Regions from separate parts of the Homo sapiens genome. Here all the other regions are linked to region 1. Evidence: promoter capture Hi-C in 16 types of primary human blood cells and fetal thymus (Javierre and others, 2016). All regions are on one chromosome and are shown on one strand. The core of a region is centred on a gene start or on the middle of the fragment in contact, and the rest is flanking DNA. Distances in the headings are between cores, read along the strand shown. Region 1 holds the start of OR13A1 (olfactory receptor family 13 subfamily A member 1). Region 2 overlaps MARCHF8 (membrane associated ring-CH-type finger 8). Region 3 overlaps MARCHF8 (membrane associated ring-CH-type finger 8). Region 4 has its middle 10 kb from the start of MARCHF8. Region 5 overlaps MARCHF8 (membrane associated ring-CH-type finger 8).

What was found. The method cuts DNA at HindIII sites, captures the fragments that hold promoters and counts their contacts. A CHiCAGO score of 5 or more calls a contact.
Region 2: a contact is called between a fragment that was not itself captured here and the fragment with the promoter of OR13A1 in region 1, in 4 of 17 cell types (total B cells, naive B cells, M1 macrophages and 1 more). The highest score is 8.5, in total B cells.
Region 3: a contact is called between a fragment that was not itself captured here and the fragment with the promoter of OR13A1 in region 1, in 3 of 17 cell types (total B cells, neutrophils and monocytes). The highest score is 5.4, in total B cells.
Region 4: a contact is called between a fragment that was not itself captured here and the fragment with the promoter of OR13A1 in region 1, in 1 of 17 cell types (neutrophils). The highest score is 6.9, in neutrophils.
Region 5: a fragment that was not itself captured here is called in contact with the fragment with the promoter of OR13A1 in region 1 in 5 of 17 cell types (total B cells, neutrophils, M2 macrophages and 2 more); the score reaches 7.5 in total B cells.

What each region holds. Positions count from the first base shown.
Region 1 is chr10:45,312,580-45,317,256 of GRCh38, forward strand. It overlaps OR13A1 (olfactory receptor family 13 subfamily A member 1), which reads right to left and starts at 3,029. Exons shown (of 4, transcript NM_001004297.3): 1 at 2,945-3,029. The HindIII fragment of the contact is 10,818 bases long and covers 494-4,677 here.
Region 2 is chr10:45,522,925-45,528,165 of GRCh38, forward strand. All of the region lies in intron 2 of MARCHF8 (membrane associated ring-CH-type finger 8), which reads right to left. Among named protein-coding and RNA genes, the nearest start is that of MARCHF8, 9.8 kb to the right of the region's middle. The HindIII fragment of the contact is 205 bases long and covers 3,187-3,391 here.
Region 3 is chr10:45,484,241-45,488,908 of GRCh38, forward strand. The region is part of intron 3 of MARCHF8 (membrane associated ring-CH-type finger 8); the gene reads right to left. The region is part of intron 1 of LOC105378286 (a long non-coding RNA gene); the gene reads left to right. Among named protein-coding and RNA genes, the nearest start is that of MARCHF8, 49 kb to the right of the region's middle. The HindIII fragment of the contact is 8,910 bases long and covers 1-4,668 here.
Region 4 is chr10:45,542,977-45,547,868 of GRCh38, forward strand. It overlaps a transcript of MARCHF8 not described here. Among named protein-coding and RNA genes, the nearest start is that of MARCHF8, 10 kb to the left of the region's middle. The HindIII fragment of the contact is 1,649 bases long and covers 2,760-4,408 here.
Region 5 is chr10:45,505,438-45,510,077 of GRCh38, forward strand. All of the region lies in intron 2 of MARCHF8 (membrane associated ring-CH-type finger 8), which reads right to left. LOC105378286 (a long non-coding RNA gene) reads left to right here. Exons shown (of 3, transcript XR_945919.1): 2 at 4,099-4,279. Among named protein-coding and RNA genes, the nearest start is that of MARCHF8, 28 kb to the right of the region's middle. The HindIII fragment of the contact is 1,190 bases long and covers 2,007-3,196 here.

The DNA of each region.
Region 1 (4,677 bases), core at 1,779-4,278:
AAATGTTAAAGAAAACCCAGAGACTCACAGTGAGACACACTATAATCAAACTCTCAAAAGTCAAAGACAAAGAGACAATCTTGAAAGCAGCAAAAGAAAGTAACTTGTCATGTAAAAGGAAGCCTTTATAAAATTATCAGTGGATTTATCAACAGAAACCTTGCAGGCCAGAAGGCAGGGGGATAATATATTCAAAGAGCTGAAAGAAAAGAAAATTTCAACCAAAAATATTATATCCAGCAAAACCATCCTTCAAACATAAAGGAAAAATCAGCCTTTCCAGGATGAACAAAAACTGGGGAGTTCATTACCACTGGACCTGCTGTAGTATCTTGCAAGTTGAAACAAAAGGATGCTAAATAGTAACATGAAGTCTTATGAAAATATAAAGCTCTCCAGTAAAGATAAATATATGGACATATATAGAGACTGTACTATGCAGTTTTGGTACATAAATGCACTTTTAATTCTTGTATAGAATTTACAAGACAAAAGCTTAAAAATAACTATAAAACTGTGTTAATGAATACATTACATATGAAGATGTAACTTGTGACATAAGTAACCTAAGGTGAGGGTAGGAGCTTTGAAGAAATAGTTTTTGTACACAGTCGAAGTTATTCTCTTAACAGTTTAAAATAGCTTGTTAACACTTTAAGATGTTTTTTATAATTCTTATGGTAACCATAAAAAAATCTATAGAATACACACAAAAGGAAACAGGAAGGGAATCAAAATGTCACCACAAAAAAAAATCGACAAAACCCAAAAGAGGTCAGTAAGAGAAGGAATAAAAAACAAAATTTACAAAACATACAGGAAACAACAAAATGGCAAGTGTAGGTCCTTCCCTATCAGTAATTACTTTAAATGTAAATGGATTAAACTCCTGAATCAAAAGATATAGACTGGAAAATGGATTTGTAAAAAGGATCCAACTTTATCCTGTCATTTAGGTCTAAGAAACAAATATGCTTAAAATGAAAAAAAGGAAAAGTAAATGCCATGCAAATGGTAAATAAAAGCAAGCAGAAGTGACTATACTACTATCCAACAAAATAGACTTAAAGTCAAAAATAGTCACAAGACAAAAAAATGGATATTATATAACAAAAAGTCAATTCAGCAGAAAGATATAACAATTACAAATATATATACCTCTAATACCAGAGCTCCTAAATATCTGAAGCAAACATTGACAGATCAGAGAGGAAACATAAACAGCATAATAATGGTAGGCGACTTCAATTCCTCACTTACAATAATGGCTAGAACAACAAGACAGAAAATCGATAAGGAAATACAGTACTTGAACAACACTATAAATAGTGCTAACAAACATGTGCAGAACATTCCACCCAATAAAATCAGAATAGTATTTTTCTCAAGTTTACATGGAATATTCCCAAAGATAAATCACATGTTATACCACAAAAAAACTTGTAACAAATTTTAAAAGATTGAAATTATACAAAATATCTATTTTGATGAAAATGACATAAAACTAGACATCAGTAGCAGAAGGAAAACAAAAAATTCACAAATATGTGAAAATTAAACAACACAGTTTTCAACAAGCAATGGGTCAAAAAAGAAATCACAAGGGAAGTTAGAAAATATCTTGAGATAAAGGAAAATAAAAATACAATGTACCAAAATGTGTAAGATGCAGCAGAAGCAGTGCTAACAGAGAATTTTATAGCTATAAATATGTGCATTATAAAAGGAAGAAAGTGGCTAGGCATGGTGGGTCATGCCTGCAATCCCAGCACTTTGACAGGCTGAGGGAGGAGAACTTCTGGAGGCCAGGAATTTGAGACCAGCCTGGGCAACAAAGCAAGACCCCATCTCCACAACTTAAGAAAAAAAAAAAAAGAAGTAGAAGAAAGTTTGCAAATCAACAACCTAACTTTATACCTCAGGAAACTAGGAGAGAAAAAAAACTACACCCAAAGCTAGCAGAAGGAGGAAAATCCTAAAGATTAGATTAAATCAGAGATAAATGAAATATAGAATATAAAAACAATAGAAAAAAATCAACAAAACTAAGAGGTGGTTTTTGAAAACACCAACAAAATTAACAAATGCTTAGCTAGATTAACTAAGGAAAAAAGATTCAACTAATAAATCAGAAATAAAAAAGAGAACATTAGAACCCATGCCATAGAAATCAAAAGGATTATAAGAAAATACCATCAACAGTTAATTATATGTCAACAAATTGGATAATTTAGAAGTGCATAAATTTCTAGAAATATACAACCTAATAAGAGTGAATCATGAAGAAGTAGAAAAAACGAACAGACTTATAACTACGAAGGAGATTAAACTGGTTCAAAAACCTCCAAACAAACAACAGCCCAGAACCGGATGACTACCAAACATTTAAGGAAGAATTAGAACCAATGTTTCTCAAAGTCATTTACAAAAATGAATATAAAAAACACTTCAAAGCTCATTATATGAGGCCAGTATTACCCTGATTTCAAAGTCAAACAAAGACATTACATGAAAAGAAAACTACAGACCAATATTTGTGATGATCAGGTTGGCTTTATTCCTGGAATGCAAGAATGATAGAACATGTGGCAGGGTGTGCTGGCTCATGCCTGTAATCCCAGCACTTTGGGAGGCTGAGACAGGAGAATCCCTTGAACCCAGGAGGCAAATGTTGCAGTGAGCTGAGGTCATGCCACTGCACTCCAGCCAGAATGACAGAATGAGATTTCATCTCAAAAAAAAAGAATAATACAACATGCAAAAATCAATGTAATACACTATAGTAATAGAATAAAGGACAAAACAGCATGATCATTTATATTGATGTAGAAAAAATGTTTAACAAAATTTAACACCTTTTATCACGAAAACACTCAGCAAACTAGGAATAGAAGGAAAATAACATAATAAAGGCCATATATGAAAAATCCACAGGTAAACTTACACTCAATGGTAAAAGATTCAAACTTTTCTTCTGGATTAGGAACAAGACAAGTATACTCTGTCTCTTCGCTTCTATTCAATATAGTATTTGAATTTCCAAGCAGACCAATTAGGAAAAAAAAATTAAGCAAGAAAAGACATCCAAAGAATAAAAGAAAAAAGTAAAATTATCTCTGCTCACAGATGACTTGATCCTATATGCATAAAATCCTAGACTCCTGCATAAAATCTAGAAAACTGTTAGATGCATATATGCATAAAATCCAGAAAACTGTTGGAACTATTAAACAAATTCTGGAAAGTTGCAGGATCCAAAATCGACACACAAAAATCAGTTGCCTTTCTATAAATTAACTATAAACAATCCAAAGGTAATTAAGAAAATAATTTAATTACAATACCATCAAAAATAGTAAAATACTTAGGAATAAACTTAGCCAGGGAAATAAAAGGCTTGTACACTGAAAACTACAAAACAGTACTGAAAGAAGTCACAAATAAATGTAAAGACATTGGTATTCATGGATTGGAAGATTTAATGTTAAGATCTCCAAAATATCAGATGTATTCCCCAAATCTGTACAACATTATGTATTAATTTGAAAAGTCAATAGAACCCAAAGCAGTCTACAAATTATATGTAATCCCTATCAAAATCTAAGCTGCATTTTTTGAAAAAAGAGAAAAATTTATCTAAATATTCATATATACTCTGACTAGACAATCTTGAAAACTAACTGAGTTGAAGGTCTCATGCTCCGTGATCTCAAAACATGTTACAAGACTACAGTAATTAAAACAGCATGACACTGGCTTAAAGAGAGACATATAGACCAATGGAATAGAATAAAGAACCCATTAAAAGAAAACTCCACATATATGGTCAAATAATATTTACAGCATTCCAGATCCGCTCAATGAGGGAAGAACATTCTCTTCAACAAACAGTGTTGGGAAACTTGGATATCCACACATGAAAGAGTGAAGTTGAAACTTTGTCTTATGCCATATACAAGAATTAACTCAAAATGGATTTAAAACTTAAATGGAAGATCTAAAACTATAAAACTCTTAGAATAAGGGGATATGGCAATTATTTTTTAATATGACACCAAAAGTACAGACAACAAAAGAAAAAATAGACAATTGGGACTACATCAAACTTTTTAAAACTTTTATGCATTAAAGGACATAACAATGTTAAAAAAAACTTGTGGATGGAAGAAAATATTAGTAAATTATATATCTGATAAAGAGTTAATATCCAGAATATATAAATAATTTCTACAACACAATATTTAAAAATAATATGATTTTAAAATGGCAAAAGGATTTGAATAGACATTTCTTTTAAAATTATATATGAATGGGCAAAAAACATAAGAAAAAATGCTCAGCATCCAAACTGGAAAGGAAATCATTAGAGAAATGTAAATCAAAACCACAATGTAATATCTCCTCACAAAAATTGAGTGGTTTACTATTAAGAAAAAGAAATATTAGATAGGATGCAGTTGATAGCAAACAGCTTAAAAGCAACGTGACCCCAGATACTAACTCAAAGCCACACAAAAAACAAAAAGCTCTGGCAAAGACATTTATTTATATTTTTATTTATGTATTTATTGAGGGTTTTGCTGTTTTGTTGTTGTTGTTGTTTACTGTTTTATTTTTGCTTTTTCAACTTTTATTTTAGATTCAGAGGGCACTTGTGCAAGTTTGTAACCTGGGTAT
Region 2 (5,241 bases), core at 2,039-4,538, 210 kb after region 1:
AATTGCACCCCTGCACCTCAACGTGGGCAACAGAATGAGACCCCTGTCTCTTAAAAACACAAAACTATTTGATGCACAAATGAATGAAAAAATATGTGTGTGCAGTCTATATTCATGTGCAAGCATTTTTTTAGAGGAAACAAAACAATATGGAAAAAAATATACAGTCAGGCATTTATCTTTGGTGCTGTTTTATTCATGTGTAAAATAAGGAAGTCATCTCAATAACATCACATATCAAAAGCCATTAACAACGATTACAGGACACTAGGACTGTAGTATTATTTACTGCAATCTCTGCATTAAAAAATAAATTAGGGGCCCAATAGGGTGGCTCACACCTATAATCCCAACACTTTGGAAAGCCAAGGTGGGAGGATGGCTTGAGGCCAGGAGTTTGAGGCCAGCCTTGGCAACATAGCAAGATCTCATCTCTTCAAAATAAAAAATTTAGCCACATGTGATGGTGTATGCCTATAGTCCCAGCTATTCAGGAGGCTGGGATGGGAGGATCACTTGAGCCCAGCAGTTCAAGGCTGCAGTGAGCTATGATCATGCCACTGCACTCCAGCCTGTGAGAGTGAGACCCAATCTCTAAACTAAATAAATAAAAACAAAGAGTGAAAAATAAATAAATATATTTGAGTGGTTTTCTTATTTTCAAGTTACTGACAGAAAATCTGAAAAATTATCTGCCACCTAGTTGTCCAATTCACACAGGACAGCTATAAGAGAGTAGTGACAACCAAGAAATCATAATCATCAAGTCCTACAGTGATACCTAGACAAACGTATTCATACACCACCTTGACTCAACTTATATGCAACACACTGAAACCAACTGCAAATGCTTCACTTACCGCACAACCAGACAAGACTCTTGGTTTTACCTAGATTATGTACACTCTTAACTAGCAAACTCTCACTAGACCAACATCCACAGAGGTCAGCTACAGTTATTCTGTGCATTCCTTCCATCTCTAAACTCTAAATAAATAAACAGCAAACCATTACCAGTTCTCAAGTTTTACGTGAGAATTGGCTGATATAGGTAAGCTGCTAATATATAAAATAGCTGGAATCGATATTGTTGGCTTTTTACTAAGAATATTTAAAATTGCAGGACCTCAAAGTTGCACATAATTTTATCTGCATTTAAGCTTCAAAAATCTATATATGCAAAAGAAAATGTAGATGTAGCCGTTCAAATGGGTCAACCTGAATTTAATGTTTTATAACAGCATACTCTTTTTTAATCTCTAGAAAAACATCAAAACTTCTCTTTATTCTCAAAGAAAACAAGCCTACAAAGCAGAAAATGACCATTTAGTAAAGAAGTCATCTTTGGTTCTTAAATGTTAAGCATGCTACAACTTTCTATACATGTTTGAGCCAACTAGGAGATACTTCCAAGGGGTTTCAGAGATCGCTGTGATTACCAAATAGGAAAAACACGCTTGGAAGCAGAAGTGAAAGACTCCAGGGAGCAAGAACAGGTAAACAGGTGACAAAGAAATTCTGGTTTCCAGGTATGAGAAAATTAATCTCTTGTGGCCCTTGCAGGTAAGGTAGATGGATGATTCAAGAAGCCACGCAAATGATCTCACAGATGGTGATGCCTAACCAGACAGTAATCTGCAACAGGTTTATTTTAAAGATGCATATTCATCTCTTCATGAAAACATACTTCTATAAAAAAGCTAGAAATGGTCTAAAAGACAGTAACTAGAATGCTGAGAGACCCAACTAATAATACGTGATTATAAGGGATTTTTATCCTGCAGAATAAGACTGGCAGTTCCTGGAAGCAAAAAGTAAAAGTGTCAGTAAGAGAAAGCTACAGACAGTTTGGTCTTATACTGTATCTCAAATCTCTGGTAGCCCAAAAAAAAAAGCACAAAACAACCGCCTTTCGAAGTAGTGGGTTAGCATCAGGGCTGATGCCCTAATGGTGCCCTAAAAACAAACTGGCCATGATAATACAGAGTAGGTTCAAGCATTAAACTGGGAGTTTGCCCACATGGCTCTGGAGATACTGCAATGTTAAAATTCAAGAGGTTTTCTCCAAGTTCCTTATATTAGGTTTTTATTATTTAAAAGGGAAGAATTTATCTAATAGAGAAAAGAGAATAATTTTTAAGTAGTAAAAGTGTGGTGATTCTGTCTAAAGATATTGTTATCACTTGAACATTGTGAGGTCATTTTTTCAAAAGATGTTAGGTACAAATGAATACAGTATGATCTATCAATACTCATGTGTTTTTAGAGCAAATACGAAATTGTGTTTACTGACCATCATCCTGATGCTGCATGGTAAAATCCTCCTTTTGACCTCAGTAGCAGGACAACAGGGCCAAAACTAGGACTGTTTATAAATATATAAAATACCACTTTTATTTTCTGTGTAGCTTACTTTAAATATAAGTTGATCATTGAATTACCTTCTTACTTATCACCTTTCAGGAATCCTGGGATACAGATCATTTCTTTCAGGATCCCTTTATCAAGGAGGACAGGGCAGAAAATTGAAAAATGTATTTTTTGGACAATCTTGCAATTTGGGTTCCAGACATGTAGAAGAATTCCAGATAATTCATGTAAAGACTCCACCTTCAAGGAGGGGGAGCACAACTCCCCATTCTTTAAAGTGGGCTATGCCTAGTGACTTCCTTCCAAAGAATGAAGTACAAAAGGGGAGAAAAAGAGTAACTTTATAGTGGAGAGACCTGATAGTCACTATATCAGCCAGGTGGTCAAGAAAATCAGTCATAAATCATGTTGATAGTATACTCGATCTGTTGTGATGAACTGGTACATTGTATCTGTGGACTTCCATCCCAAAACCTATAACCCTAGTCTAGTCATGAGAAAAATATCAGACAATTCCCATAGAAGGACATTCCACAAAATACCTGATCAGTATTCTTCAAAACTGTCAAGGTAATCTAAAACAAGGGAAGTCTGAGAAACTGTCATAGCCAAGAGGAGCCTAAGGAGATACAACAACAAAATGTAATATGCTACATCCTAGAGATGAGATCCTGGAACACAAAAAGGACATTAGTTAAAAAGTAGGGAAATCTGAATAAAGCATGGACTTTAAAACTATAATGTATTCATATTAGTTCACTAACTATGATGAATGCAGCACACTATTTTAAGATGTTAATAATATGAGAAACTGGAAGCTTGGTTCAAGATGGCTAACTAGATGCAGCTAGTACATGCCTCTTCCATGGAAAGCTCCAAAACGGCGAGTAGATATTCACCCTTCAAATAGGTCATCTAAAACAGAACACTGGAATTCAACTGAAAAGCAACAGGAATCACTGATCACAAAGGAGAAGGAAGCAAGGCACGTGCTCAGCCAGGATTGCTGAGAGATGAAAGAAGCTTCTAGATGCTGGGAAAGGGTAGATGAGAGACTCCCAGGGCTCCACATTCCCACCATGGACTTTTGCAACGCTAGCTGTGGGAGACCCCCTTGACCCTCGCAGGTCTCCAGCCTAATAGAGTGAGTTGCCTGGAGATTGACAGAGGCATTGCTCAAACTCACATGGGAGTACACAGGCTTCCGAGCCCTGAGCAGCTGCTGCTACCAGCCAACAAGCCAGGCTGAAGAGAGGAGGCCAGGCACTTTTACACAACCACTGTGCTTCTTGTACAGTCTGCAGAATAGTGAGCCAAATAAAATCTCTTATTTATAAATTACCCAGCCTTGGGCATTCCTTTATAGCACAAGAGGGGACTTCAACACCCCACTGACAGCACTAGACAGACCACTGAGACAGAAAAAAAAAGAAAAAAAAAACCCCACTGGATTTAAATTGGACTGTAGAACAAATAGACCTAACAGATGTTTATATAACAAGCTACCCAACAATCACAGAATATACATTCTTCTTATTAGCATGTGGAACATTTTCCAAGACAGACCTTATCTTAAGGAATGAAGCAAGTCTCAATAAATTTTTAAAAAACTGAAATCATTTCAAGTTGTCTTCTCAGACTACAGTGGAAAAAACCTAAAGTCAATTCCAAGAAGGACTCTCAAATCTATACAAATACATGGAAATTAACCTGCTCTTGAATGATTTTTGGGTCAGTGATGAAATTAAGATGGAAGTTTAAAAATTTTTTAAACAAAAGTAGAGACACAACATACCAAAACCTCTGGAATACAGCAAAAGCTTATAGTGTTGACTGTAAATGGATTCAAGAAAGAAAAGTTTATAGCGTTAAATGCCTAAATCGAAAAAAATAGAAAGACCACAAGTTAACCTGACATAGTACCTCAAGGAACTAGAAAAACAAGAACAAACCAAACCCAGAAGAAAAGAAATGATGAAGAGCAGAACTAAATGAAATCCAGATCATAAAAACCCAAAAGATAAAGAAACAAAAAGTTGCTTCACTGAAAAGATAAACAAAATTGACAGCCTACTAGCTACATTAACCAAGAAGAAAGAAAATTCAAATAAGCACAATCAGAAATGAAAAAGACACTACAAATGATACCACAGAAATACAAAAGATCATCAGAGTCTACCATGAACATCTCTACACTAACGAACTAGAAAACCTAGATGAAACAGGTAAATTCCTAAAGACACACAACCTCTCAAGAATGAACTAAGAAAGAGAAAGCCTGAAGAGACCAATAACCAGTAAGACTTAACCAGTAATAAAAATAAAAAAAAATCTCCCAACAACAAAAAACCCCAGAAGCAGATGAATTCACAGCCAAATTCTACCAGACATAGAAGAATAGGTACCAATCCTATTGACAACACTGTTCCCCCAAATTGAAGAAAATCCTCTCTAACTGAAGCCAGTATCACCCTAACACCAAATCCAAGCAAGGACACACAAAAACAGAAACAGAATCAATCAGTACCCCTAATGAACACAGATGCAAAAACGCTCAAGAAAATACTAGCAAACCAAATCCAACAGCACATCAAAAAACATGGTACACCACAATCAAGTGGGTTATATTCCAGGGATACAAGTAGGGTTTAACATACAAAAATCAATAAATGTGATCTGCCACATAAACAGGATTAAAAACAAAAACCATATTATCTCGATAGATACAGAAAAAGCATTTGATAAAATTCAGCATTCTTTCATGATAAAAACCACTCAACAACTTGGTGTAGTAGGAACATACCTCAAAATAATAAAACCCATATACAAGAATCCCACAGCCAACATCATACTGAATGGGGAAAGGTTGAA
Region 3 (4,668 bases), core at 2,125-4,624, 170 kb after region 1:
AAACTTTGAGTTTGTTCTTTAGAAAATGATTAAGCAAACAGCAGCAAGGGAAGTACATAGGGTGAGGACTGAGTGTGGATGGGGCATCTGGGGAACATCCTCCAGGATGGCTCGTGGGCCCACATGGTCAAGGACCCTGCGGTGAGGTGAAGGTCTGGGCAAGATGCATGGCGATTTCATGGGGGCTGCATTCCAGTGCCCGTCTTTGTATAAAGCATGTCACCTGTGGGACTCAAACTGCCTCAAACTTCTCCAAGCACCCAGTCAATTAAACAGATTTTTTTCCAAGGGGGGACATTCTGCTGCTTCTAAAAATATAAGATTTTCTACACACTGCTATCATTACAAACTGTGATAGGTGCTATGAAGAAAGAGTAACAAAACCCAAATGGGTGATAAAATTTAGACTAAGGGGAGGGTGTCAAGGGTAAGTGCCTCTAAAGAAGCTAAGAACTGAAAGAGAAATGAGTTAGGAATTTTAGCCATTCATGCAAAAAAGGGGTAAGATTGGGAGAGGCCTCTCGGACAGAACAAAAGGTGCGCAAATAGGAATTTGGCTTGTTTGAAAATCATCAAGGTAGACACCATACCTAGATCATCATGACCAAGGGGATATTGCACAGGATCAGGTTCCAAGTGGCCAGGCCCAGGTCACCTTAGATGTGACAGCTCAAGGTAGTGTAATCAGAAACACTGAAGAATTGAAAAGAGAAGCATTAGGAATTCTACTTACTGGCTACTGGGTGCTAGATGGTTTGGGATAGATTCTTGAGAAGCTACTGCAGGAGTTTAGGAGGCCTGGGCCTGGGAAGTGGCTGGGATGATGAAGAGGGATGAACCAATGGGCTGGGTATCAAGTGTCTAGCAGAACAGCATGCAAACATTGACTCAGCATGTACTGACAACCTCCAGGGCTCCATCCCATCACTGGTTCTGCAGATTTAGGGGTAAACAAAGCATGGCTCTACACTCATGAAGGTTACATGTGGGGTGAAGGTGCAATGGAAAAAAATTCATGAAAACCCAGGCAGTGATAAGTGCGATCCTGAAAAATAAAAGGAAAAGGTGACTTTGGACCCCTTAGGATGTTAATTGGAGGTGACAAATTTCATGAAATCCCTTGGTAACAGAGGCTCAACAAATGATATCCATTAACATTGTACTATCAATACAAAATAAGTATTGGGTGAAGACTTTGCCATTGTAATTGCTTAAATATCCCAATATGCTTCTTCTATTAACTCCTTAAGGGGATCAAATCCAGCTGCCCACTTTGAAGAGAGGCAAGCCACCACAGACCTAGCAGCCTCATAAACATCTCATCCAACCTACCTGCTTCCTTCTTTGAAAATGGAGCCTGGTTTTTAAAGTCAATATGCTTCCAATACACACTGAGACACTTTGTAATAAAATCTAGATGGAATACTAGGAGGCATGATTAAAGGTTTATTTTTTACCTCTTTTCAACCTCTAAATTTACGCCAGCAAGAGGTGAACTGCAGAAGCATAAAGCAGACTGCAGTGACTGGCTCATGTGCTGACCCCAGCTGGGGTCTAAAAGTCAGCAGAAAGTCTCCTGACAGAGACAACGGGGATTTCAGGTAGCATACAGTATGTCCACATTGTGGCCTCCTTTAATCTCAAGAGTATGTCTGCTATACTGAAGATACGATTTTACATGTCACGGCCTAAAACTGGCTTCAAACAGCAGGTTCATTTAATAAATACTCCAATAAAAAAACTGTCTTCTCAAAAACAGTTATCTTCCACAGGGGGCCTGCCCTCCCTTCCTTGGTCCCACTGAACTGGTTCATGTCTAACCACCTTATACAGCATGCTAACTATCTTCGTTACAAAAGGGTACACTTTGCAACAGAATTTCACGTTGACAGGTTAACCAGGAAGTTCTGTGAGTAATCAAATGTTCTAAAGGCTCACTCCACTCAGATACTCTCCAATGACCATAGTAAGCATCCCGGAACTCACTGGACACACTAAGTGTCCAGTCGCAAACAGCACACAGTAAAAATGTATTCAAGAAGGGGCCGGGCACGGTGGCTCACGCCTGTAATCCTAGCACTTTGGGAGGCCAAGGCGGGTGGATCAGGAGGTCAGGAGTTTGAGGCCAGCCTGATCAACATAGTGAAACCCTGTCTCTACTAAAAATACAAAAATTAGCTGGGCGTGGTGGCACGCACCTGTAATCCCAGCTACTCAGGAGGCTGAGGCAGGAGAATTGCTTAAATCCAGGAGGCGGAGGTTGCAGTGAGCCAAGATTGCACCACGGCACTCCAGCCTGGGCTACGGAGCGAGACTCTGTCTAAAAAAAAATGTATGCAAGAAGGAAAAAATAATGTATGGTTCTCCATTGTTCAGCAATAAATAATAAAGCTACCATTAAATGAACTGTCCTGGCCCAATCAACCTAAGGTCACCAGGATTCAACGAACTTTGACAAGAGTCAGGTTTGTTGGCTCAGTGTAATGGGTGAGCTGCCCCATGGTTCCATGCAAATGTTAATCCCAAGACTCGGAACAACCCTGAAGGTTGTATTATTACCCTACTTTTTTTTTTTTTTTTTTTTTTGAGACGGAGTTTTGCTCTTGTTGCCTAAGCTGGAGTGCAATGGTGTGATCTTAGCTCACTGCAACCTCCGCCTCCCAGGTTCAAGCGATTCTCCTGCCTCAGCCTCCCAAGCAGCTGGGACTGCAGGTGTGCACCACCACGCCTGGCTATTTTTTTGGAATTTTAGTAAAGATGGGGTTTCATCATGTTGGCCAGGCTGGTCTCAAACTCCTGACCTCAGGTGATCCGCCCGCTTCAGCCTCCCAAATTGCTGCGATTACAGGTGTGAGCCACCACGCCTGGCTTACCCTACTTTTACTGATAACTAAATTAAAGCTCAGAGAGATGTCCTTTTTCAAAATCACATGGCTAGTAAACCATCATCCATGTTAATTCCAAAACCCTTACAAAGCTCAAAATACCCACAACCCAAGCCAGGACAATAGCCTTTCCTCTAGACTTTTTAAGATGGTGGTTTGCAAACAGTTTTTTTTAACTATAGGAAGAAGTTTCCTTTAAATAAAATGTGACTGAAATCCATGAATGAACAGGTACATATTTAAAGCATAGGATGTCCTCCTTCAGAACTGCCCTTGGCTACTAGGGCAAGGCGACATACATGTGTTACTGAGCGTTTTTTAACACATTTAATTCAACTTAAGCAAACAGGCCATCTGCAGCTGCACCTTCTCACTTTTCTCCGTGCTTAGACACTGATTAGCTCCTTTAAAAGGTGCAAAAATGGGCAGCAATGGTTTACCACTGCATAGTTCTAGCACTGCAGCATTCCTGGCCAAAGGGACAGCAAAAGAAAAGAAATGGAGGTTGGATGGGAAAAAATATTTTGTGAAAGGCATTCCTATTTTTAACGCAAAATTAAGCGGAAGAATAATATAATTAGATTACAAATATGCCTAAGAACAGACAAATGTCTTAAGAAGGTTTGCCAGAGTTTACTTTTAGTCTTAAAAAAATAAGGTGACCTGAATGAAAACATATATGTAGTCAGCACATTAAAATGGCATATAATGTAACTGTTCATTTCAGAGTATCTAGGAGGCCTGAGACAGCAGATAGACTTTGTCACTTGTTCAAATCCTCCCAGCTGAATCTGTGGTGTGTTTGGCCATATGCCAAAAACATGGGGAAAAGGTCCACCCTTACAAAGAACTTTCATGGCCTTAACTGTATGGCGAAGGGGTTGGCCAGAGTCAATGTGTGGGCTGAGAGAGGAGCACTGCCTGGAAGCAAGCTCACTGCATCAGATACACTCTGCTGGTTCCCAGGCCATACCCTAGCAGCCAGTGTGCTCCTGGTGCGCTAAAAAGACCACACCACAGGTGAGGAGATGCTGTTGGATGGCTGATTCACTTCCCAAGCCCTCCTTTCCCTAGCTGCCTTCCAGCTAGAGGTGGCCTGTGATCCAGTTCTGGCCAGGGAGATGTAAGCAGATTTCAGGCGGCCAGGTGGGACTTGTGGGACAACTTTTGCCTTCCTGCTGAAAATGGTGACTCTCAGCTAACAGACCTGTTAATCCTTGATCAGTCCTCTAATTCCTGCCAAGGCCACAACCGCAATGCCTGAAGGTCCAGCTCTCATCGTGAGACCATGTGTCAAGTAGGAGATAGCACAGAGAGGAAAGAGCCTGGGTCCCTGGCAACATCTGTTACAGGGAGCCGAAGACCCATGGGACGTGACCAACTCAGCATTCCCCTGGAGACTATATGATCAAACAGCAAACCGTTCATCATGAATGCAGGATATGAGCAAACTCACGACTGCTCCGGCCGACTGCTCCTGCCAACAGAAGGTTTGCTGGAGGCAATCACTCCCTGGCGCCAAGGTTCTCTACTGCAACATCTAGAACCTTTTGTTCAAGGAATGCAGTCTTGCAAGCCTACTCTAGACTGAGCAGCTGACCCCTTCTTCCACCCGCCTTCTCACTATCTCTTTTGCCTAATAAATATGGAGGGCTGTGTAAAGCTCAGGGCCCTTGTCCACTAGAGCCAAGATGCCTCCTTCTTCCAAATATACTCTTTTGTCTCTTGTCTTTTATTCCCGCCTTCACCCCTTGTTCAGTTCCCCTAGGTCCATGCGGGTTAC
Region 4 (4,892 bases), core at 2,334-4,833, 230 kb after region 1:
TCTAGGAAAAGGTGGTCTACACTCACATTCAACATTTCTTCACTTTCTATACACATTTCAACTAACTACAATCTGGCTTCAGTACAGTAAGGTCTACAATGCTCTCTATATTAAGCCTAAAAATTGTTTTGCAGCCCTCATGTTATTTGACTTGATACTTTTACTCTCTTCCTAGTCTTAAAATACTCTTTTCTTTGACTTAAATGACATAACACCGTCCTAGTGTTCCTCCTGCTCCATCTCCACCTCTGCAGATCTATCCCCTATAGCATGACATTGTACACAGATATTCCTCAAAGTTCCATTTAACCCTCTCTGATTCTCATTCTGTGCTCCCTTTTCCTGGGTGATTTAATCCATAACTTTGGCTTGAATGCCCACCTTTGCAGATGTTATTTAAAAAGAAAATATTGATAAATCAGACTTTATTGAATTTAAAACTTTTGCACTTTAAAAGATACCATTAATAAAACTCAAGATAAGCCACCGACTGGGGGAAAAATACTTGACAATCATATATCTGATAAAAGACTTGTATCTGGCCGGGCACGGTGGCTCATGCCTGTAATCCTAGCACTTTGGGAGGCCGAGGCAGGCGGATCACAAGGTCAGGAGATCGAGACCATCCTGGTCAACATGGTGAAACCCTGTCTTTACTAAAAATACAAAAAATTAGCCGGGCACGGTGGCGGGCGCCTGTAGTCTCAGCTACTCAGGAGGCTGAGGCCGGAGAATGGCGTGAACCCGGGAGGCGGAGCTTGCAGTGAGCCAAGATCGTGCCACTGCACTCCAGCCTGGGTGACAGAGTGAGACTCCGTCTCAAAAAAAAAAAAAAAAAAAAAAAGACTTGTATCTAGAATAAAGAACTCCTACGTTAAGACAAACAACATAATTTTAAAATAAGCAAAATACATTAACAGACATTTCATCAAAGAAAATATATGAGAGCCAGGCTCTCATATGTGCCTGTAGTCCTAGCTATTCGGGAAGCTGAGGCAAGAGGGTCGTTTGAGCCCATGTGTTCGAGGCTACAGTGAGCTATGATCACAACACTGTACTCCATTCTGGGCAACAGCATGAGACCCCGTCTCTAAAAAATAAAATAAAATAATGAAGACATATGAATAGCTAATAAACTCATGAAAAGATGCTAAAAATTAAAACCACAATGATATACCACTATACCCCCACTAGAATGGCTACAACCAAAAACACTAGAATGGCTCCAATCAAAAAGACAGTCAATACTAATTGTTTGATATAGAAAAAATTAGATCTCTCATGTATTGCTGGTGAGAATATAAATTGGTATAGATACTTGGAAAATAGTCTGGCAGTTTCCTAAAAAGTTAAACATAAACTTATCCTATGACCCAGGAACTGCAGTCCTTGGAATTCATCCAAGAGATATGAAAACATACGTCCACACAAAGACACATACATGAATGTGCATAGCAGCATTCCTCATAATAGCCCAAAACTGGAAATATTCCAAATGTCCACCAACTAAAGAATAGATAAAAATGTGGCTTATCTATACAATGAAATTCTATTCAGCAATTAAAAGGAAAAAACCAATCATATACACTACAACATGGATGAACCTCAAAGATTATGCAAATTGAAACAAGTCAGACACAAAAGTCTATATATTATACAATTCCGTTTTTATAAAGTGTCTTGAGAAGGCAGATCAGTGATTGCCTCATGTTGGGTGTAGTTGTGGGTACTATCTGCAAATGGGCAAGAGGGAACTTTGGGGGCAAAGGAAATGTCTCTAACTGGATTACAATGACACTGCACTACTTCAAATTTATTAATCACTGAATTGTACACTTATAATAGGTGAATTTTATGGTGCCTAAATTACACCTCAAGATGCTCATTTAATACAGCTTACAAGGCCCTATGTTATCTATCCCACCTCATTTTGTACTACCCCTCTCTCTATAGTCCAGCAACAGCAGTGTTCCTTCAGTCCCCTCAGACCTCCCAGCACCTTACCATCACAGCCTATATATATGGTATTCTCTGCCTGCAACACTCTTCCTTCCCCTTTTGGGCTAACTAACTCTTCCTCAACCATCTGACCATCCTGACAGAGGAAATTCCACATTCATAGTTCTTTATAGGATCAATGAAGAACCTCTACTTCATTAACAATGTTCACAGAATGTTACATTTATTGAGTTCTTTAATTAATGACTTTCTCCCCTACTCAGCCGTAAGCTCCCCAAAGGCAGCATATCTCATTTTGCTCACCTTTGTATCTCTCTTTCTGTGGCCCAATGCCTATCACATAAGATCTATTAAATAAATGCTGGTTGGATCAATCTCCCTGAGACAGCAGGCAAAAATGGCTGAGAATTTCATTTGTAACTCAAACTATTAAGCAACACTGTTCTCTGTCTCAAATCCTGATCAAGTACCCTAGTGGAGATTTGGAAAAACTAACAAAAATTCATGTTTGTCAACCTGGTACAATTCATTTCAGATGGGAAGAAACCCACTGATCTTTAAATATCTGCAGCAGATTGACCACATCAGACTTAGTTGAAAATTGAAATGGATTTCAAATATAGTGGAATGTAATCTAAGTATCTTTAAGAATAATTTTAGAAGATGACAAGTATAAGTAGTTAAGAATTACTGATCAAAGCATTTTAAGACAGAGGAAAACTTGAGTTTCCTAAGTTACAGATAAGAAATTTCAACCTTTGAGTCAAAAACGCAATGCTGGATAGATAGCAAGTTATGGAAGCTTGCTATCCAACAGCTGAACGAGAGCCCAAATATGCTACTGCACTAGTATCACCTCAAAGCCTTCTTCCCTTCACTCAGCCAGGAAAGAAGGCTCCCCCTGCCACATCACATCTCGCCCTCTGTCTCACTCTCACTTAACCACTGGTTAGCAAGGCTAACCTTAAGCTATAAAGCTATAAAGATTGCCCTGCTCCTGCCTTTTACTGAAACGAAGACCAAAATTAAACTTGAAAGCTCTGAGAAATTTCAGGGAAGATGACAGAGAAACACCACAAGGTCTCCATATGTTACCCACTAAAAAACAGTCTGATGCAAATTTTGTTATTTGGGCTTGGCCTGTTAAAACTATTAGCTTTAAAAACAGCGAGTTCATTTTAAAATATAAAAATGAGCTGAATTTTTATTTATTTATTTATTTATTTATTTATTTATTTATTTTGAGACAGGGTCTCGCTCTGTTGCCCAGGCTGGAGTGCAGTGGTGCAATCTCGGCTCACTGAAACCTCCACCTTCCTGGTTCAAGCGATTGCGCTGCCTCAGCCTCCCGAGTAGCTGGGATTACAGGTGCACGCCACCACTCCTGTCTAATTTTTTTGTATTTTTAGTAGAGACAGGGTTTCACCATGTTGGCCAGAGTGATCTCAAACTCCTGACCTCAGGCAATCCGCCCGCCTTGGCCTTCCAAAGTGCTGAGATTACAGGCGTGAGCCACAGCGCCCGGTCATGAGCTGAAATTTTTTAATGCAACAAGAATAAAGCAGGCCAGGAGTGGTGGCTCACACCTGTAATCCTGGCACTTTAGGAAGCCAAGGCGAGTGGATCACTTAAGCTCCGGAGTTTGAGACCAGCCTGGGCCACATGGTGAGACCCCATCTCTCCTAAAAATATAAAAAAAATTGCTGGGCGTGGTGGTGCATGCCTGTGGTATCAGCTACTTGGTCGACAGATGGGAGGATCACTTGAGCCCAGGGGACAGAGGTTGCAGTGAGCCAAGATTGTACCACTACACTCCAGCCTGGGTGACAGGAGGAGAACCTGTCTCAAAAAAAAAAAAAAAGTTAACTACCAGAAAATATATATGCAATTACCAATAGTGAAGAAATCATAAGACATACAAACATATCCCACAGACTAAAGTTTATCCAGAAACAAAAGACTGAAGTTTGTTAGTTTTTAAATCTCCTAGAGTAATTTAGAGCATTGCCAGTTGCAGTGGCTTGTATCTGTAGTCCCAGCTACTTGGGAGGCTGAGGTGGGAGGACCACTTTAGGCCAGGAGTTCTAGACTGGCCTGGGCAACATAGAAAGACCTTGTCTCCCCACCAAAAAAATTCAGATCATTACTAGAGGTAATAAAGGGTACAATAAATGTTAAATAAAACAATAGTAAATAAGCAATGCTGAAAATAAGTGGAAAATAAAATCCAAAGCATAAATAATTTAAACAGATAAAGTATATGAAGAAACTAAAAAGTATAAAAATACTGCCTGTCAATAATAATGGAGGAAAAAACTAGATGAAAGCATTTGTAAATCTTAAGTATTTTACATGCATATTTCATTTAAATCTCACAGCAGTGCCAGGAGGGAGAGAAACTTTTATCTCCCTTTCATGCATGGCTTAGAGAAATTAATCAACTTGCCCAAGCTTTCACAGCCATATTTCAAGGACTCTCAGCTGCCAGCATTTGCTTGACCTTACAGAAGGTGTCAACAAAAAGTTTTTATGCAACTAGACCATAATTATCCCTGACTAAGCGGGGATTCCAAGGTGCCAATTTCAGAGATGTTAGAATGGATAAAAATGCACAACTTATGCTTGACTAAATGTGATAGTGTGCAGCAACCGATCAGGTGAACCTAAAATATGTAGCGGTTTTTTTGTTTTTTGTTTTTTTAATTTCACAGTGGCACTGCTACGGGAAGGACTAAGATAAAACATAATATGTTCCTGTCTTTGTTGTAGTAAAGAAGAGCTATTATAATCCCTATGGATATAGAAGACAACATGGAATTCACATTTGAAGTATTAAATAGTGACAGGCCTTTTGTTGTCTTTTTTGTCTATAGAGGGACAACTTAACCAAAGCAATGGTTATATCTGCCTAAAATTTGGCAAAGATAATAAAT
Region 5 (4,640 bases), core at 1,352-3,851, 190 kb after region 1:
TTGCTATCCATTTATTTGTTTTTAATCAATACCACAGGCTTGTAATTAATGCCAGATGTGATCTAGTTACTGTTTAAGCCAGAAAACTTCTGTTTCCCAGCAACATTCTACCCCTACTTTTTCCCACAGTGACTGGTTGAAGAACAAGATAACATTAATTGCTTTAGGCCAATTAGAGCCATCTGGAGCTACAGGTGATTCTATCCTATTCAAACCACATGGCTGTGAAATTTGGGACCTCCAACAAATTATTTCCCAATGGGGATTCGGTTTTATGGTCTGGCCATTTTATAAAAATCTCTAATCTTTGTGAATGGTTTAATGGGTGAGCAACTATAAATAGTCTGGTTTGTTAGTTTTTTTCTGTTTGTCTATTTGTCTGTTCTCACCACGAATCAATTAAGAATTCATGCTCACTGGGAAGAGAGCAACTCTTTGACACGGACTGATGAGTTTTATAATTCTGTATTTGCCATGGCCCCATAGTTGAAATTTCAGAATTGAAGTCATAAACTCTTTCCGCATCTGCGTGTCTATGTGTAATTCAGAAAGGCTGTTGTCTTTCAATGTGTGAAGGTGCAATAATTTTCTACCTCAGAATGGGATTAACAAATTAGATTATAAAATCTACTACATTATGAAATCTCTTAAAGTAATATATTCTGATTTACTCATAGAGGTAAATAAGTACATATATAAACAGAATATTCCTAAATTTCCCAGAAAATAAGGAGGTTGAAGATCTAACACTTTCAAGAAACCAATTATTGAGCTGTATTAAGAAATCAAGTTCACATAAAAAAAGCAAATCTTTGGAAATGGGACCAGTTTAATATTTATGGTTTAAAAGAAACAGTTGTATCTTTACTGATTTATCAATATTAAGTATAAGCATAGACTTTTATTCTATTTGGGTACGTCATTCATAAACCTATACAGGTTTACTGATTGAATAAACTAGCGTTACTTCTACTTAATGTCTAAGATTATGGAAAAGGTAAATTTGTGTTCAACCAAACAAAATCATTATTCTGATGACCTTGTATTTCAACAGTAATTATGTCTTGCAATATATCAGCTTGAAGACAAATTTCCAAGATCTTTAGGAAACTTAAAAACTCGAACTGGTATCAATTTGAATTAACTAATGAATATGCACTCAATACTGATCTCATTTCTAAGTAAGACTGAATATTGAGACATTTATAACTAAGCATAAATTTAATATTGTCACGCACGTCCATGTGAAGAGACCACCAAACAGGCTTTGTGTGAGCAAGAAAGCTTTTTAATCACCTGGGTGCAGATGGGCTGAGTCTGAAAATAGAGTCAGCAAGGGGAGTTGGGGTGGGGCAGTTTTATAGGATTTGGGTAGGTAGTGGAAAATTTTCACTTCTTTTGTGATTCTTCAGTTGCTTCAGGCGATCTGGATGTATACATGCAGGCTTGGGCTCAGAGGCCTGACAAATATACTTGTTTCTTATTTTTATATGCTACAAAGAGGCTATGTCTTTGGCTCTTTTAATCAGTTAAATGTGTTCATTTTTGCCACTCTTGAGACTTGTACACAATGAAAGTGTACACACAGTTAAAGTTGTGTTAGCTCTGGATGTTAGCTCTGCTAGTTTGCTAAAACAGTGGCATGCAACAGCTCACAATTATCCACTCCCTAGTTTTCTCTGTGTAATAAAAGTTACTTTGGCTAAAAGTTATCAATAACATGTGAATGAGACTACTAGAACAATGGTGGCAGGCAGGTACAACACTACGTGTGAGGTAGTAGGATGGGTTTTGTTTATTAAGGAAAAAAAAATAGTTTTGTCCTAAAATAAAAGGGCTGGTTGTTCCAGAACGAGAAAGAGGGTTGTCTCAGTCTGTTCGCATTACTATAAAGGAATACCTGAGGCTGGGTAATTTATAAAGAAAAGAGGATTATTTGGCTCATGGTTCTGCAGACTATACAAGAAGCATGGTGCCAGGATCTGCTTCCAGAGAGACACTCAAGAAGCTTCCCATTCATGATACAGGGAGAAGGAGAACAGAGATTACAAGGTGAGAGGAAGGACGACAGGTCAAGAGAGCAAGGAGGGAGGTGTCAGGCTCTTCTTAATATGATCTCAGAGGAACTAAGTGAGAATTTATGCATTACCCAGAGGAGGGCATTAAGCCATTCATGAGGGATCCGCCTCTATGACCCAAACCCCTCTCAGAAGACCCTACATCCAACATTGGGGATAACATTTCAATATGAAATTTGGAGGGGACAAATATCCAAACTACATCAGCTGTAAAGGACAAAAATTGATATAGAAAGTTGTAGAAGATTTGAGAAAAGATAATTTTACTTGCCTTGGCCAAAGTTAGCTCAGTTTTGAAAAAAAAAAAAAAAGATTTTATAAAAGTGCTTGTAGTTCCTGTAGTATCAAATATTACACTGATACAATACTGGAGTTTGGTTTTCTCTGTTGAAATTAGAAAATTTTCTTGGATTATTGATCTGCCCTTAGTAAGAGATTGTAAGATATCTGCTGTATAAATAACAAAGATTCTGTTTTACCAAAATAGTTTTCTGTGCTTTTCATGTTGATTGTACAATGTCCTTGATTAAATATTTCTCACTTATGAAAGAGCCAAATGCTTTACAATCATGTAACCTTCACTTTATTTTCAAATGTTTGGATGTCACTTTGAAATGAGTAGGAAAGTATTTCTCAGGCACCTATGATCTGATTCCTAAGTGTTGAAATCTCCTGGTAACTTTTCATTTATGTCTTTACAAATTCAAATCCTAAATGTAAAATAAAATAAAAAATTTGAGATACTTTTGGGACTAAAACTGTCTCTGAGATTTATAAGAGGGCCCATGAAAGAGGACAAAAATTTATTCTTTCACAGTAAAAAAAAAAAAAAAAAAAAGTACTGGAAACAATTGTGTTTGTTACTATTGATGAAACTGCATGGGAGGAATTAGCAAATCAGAAGAGATTTGTCAATGCTCTCACTGTCATGATTAGTTTCTATTTATCAAAGTCCTGATACTCTGCACTGTATAGCTGTTATCACTCTTATGTTTTAAAATGTTAACTTGGTTACAACTTCACTTTTCAAATGTGAATGCAGCATCTTCTGGGCCAGTGGTTTTCAATTAAGGATTCACATAATTTACTATGGAGATGGAGTTTCATTAATATACAGAAGCTTAGGACCCACTCCAGACTTACTAGATCTTTTCACTTGATATTCTGGATACATTATTGGTACATAATATCTAGGATTATTGCTATATTTCAAGATTCATTTCTCTGTAAAGTTTATGCTCATCTGCTTTTATAAATCAGATATAATATTACATCCTTTAACTATAGAGTTCATTATTACATTTTAAATTGTTTAAAATTTTTTTATTGACTTTATTATCTTGTTTTGCATGTCACAGAAACCAGATTTCCTTGTCAGTTATATTTTTCTCAAACTCTCATCAGATCCTTCATTTTTTGAAAATGATCAGTAAAAAATTAACTGCAGCCATTTTAAATGTTTTTATCTGCAGACATCTATTTGTTGCTGTTTTATTCTGATGTTTCCCTCAGAGCCTTTTCAATCAGCTACAGGCCAGAAGGAATCAGAACCCCATGGAAAAGGGCTATGCCAGGTACTTTGGGGCACAGGCTTCTAAATGACATTGCTTAAACAACTTTCAGACCATACCAGTGGCCTAAGTCAGAATTTCCAGGACTCTTATGAGGAAGCCGATGGGTTGATAATACTACTAACCCCACATCCAGTGGAACAAAAATTAACTAGATATGGCTGAATGAGCTAATGAGGGATGACTGTAGTTTTTGTCTGGAATATTGTTGATGCTGTTTGAATGTATTTTCCAGACATATAAGGAAGCCTTTTCTCTTTCTTCTTAAAGCTATCTATAACTCATAACTTAGTAGACTCTGCTTTTGTATACTGAAATGAAACACTTGTAAACATCTTATTCTCCCTGCTTGAGCCCTCCAAAGTTCAGAAACGTAATAAATATTCTATTTTCAGGGCAATAAAGTTATTTGCATAGATTAAATAAGAATCTGTCCTCTTTTTTACTAGGACATAAGTGGAAATATTGGTTTTGCAACTAAACTCACATTTGAAAATGATGCTCATTCAATCAAATATGACTAAACACTTTTAAGTGTTCTGGAACTAAGGAACTAAGACTGCCTTTACAGAGTCATCCTTACAAAGCCTTCTTTGGAAAAACTGGCTTACAGAGTTCCCAGCCTTGCAGGTGAGTAAGAAAAGCCACTTCCTGGGAGGCCCATGAGTCTTAGGATATTTTAGGGACCTCAAGAAATGAGGAATTCTTATAAATAAAACAGGTGAAATCTGATATAGAGTTATTGGCATAGCTTCCTAGCCTTAAGATCACTAGTAACAAGAGGCTTTAAAAAATCCAATCTGAGATTCCTAAAGAAAACGTGCAGCAGAGCAAACTTAAGAACTTTAAGGAACTTTTAACACTCTTGCTGTGCCCAGCTGAACAACGCCTGTAATCTGGGGAAAGAAGACTAAACATCTCATACGTGCCTGACTTGAAGAGTAGCGTAGGGAGAAGACAGAATGGGATAGAGTAGTACAGTCTCTCAAAT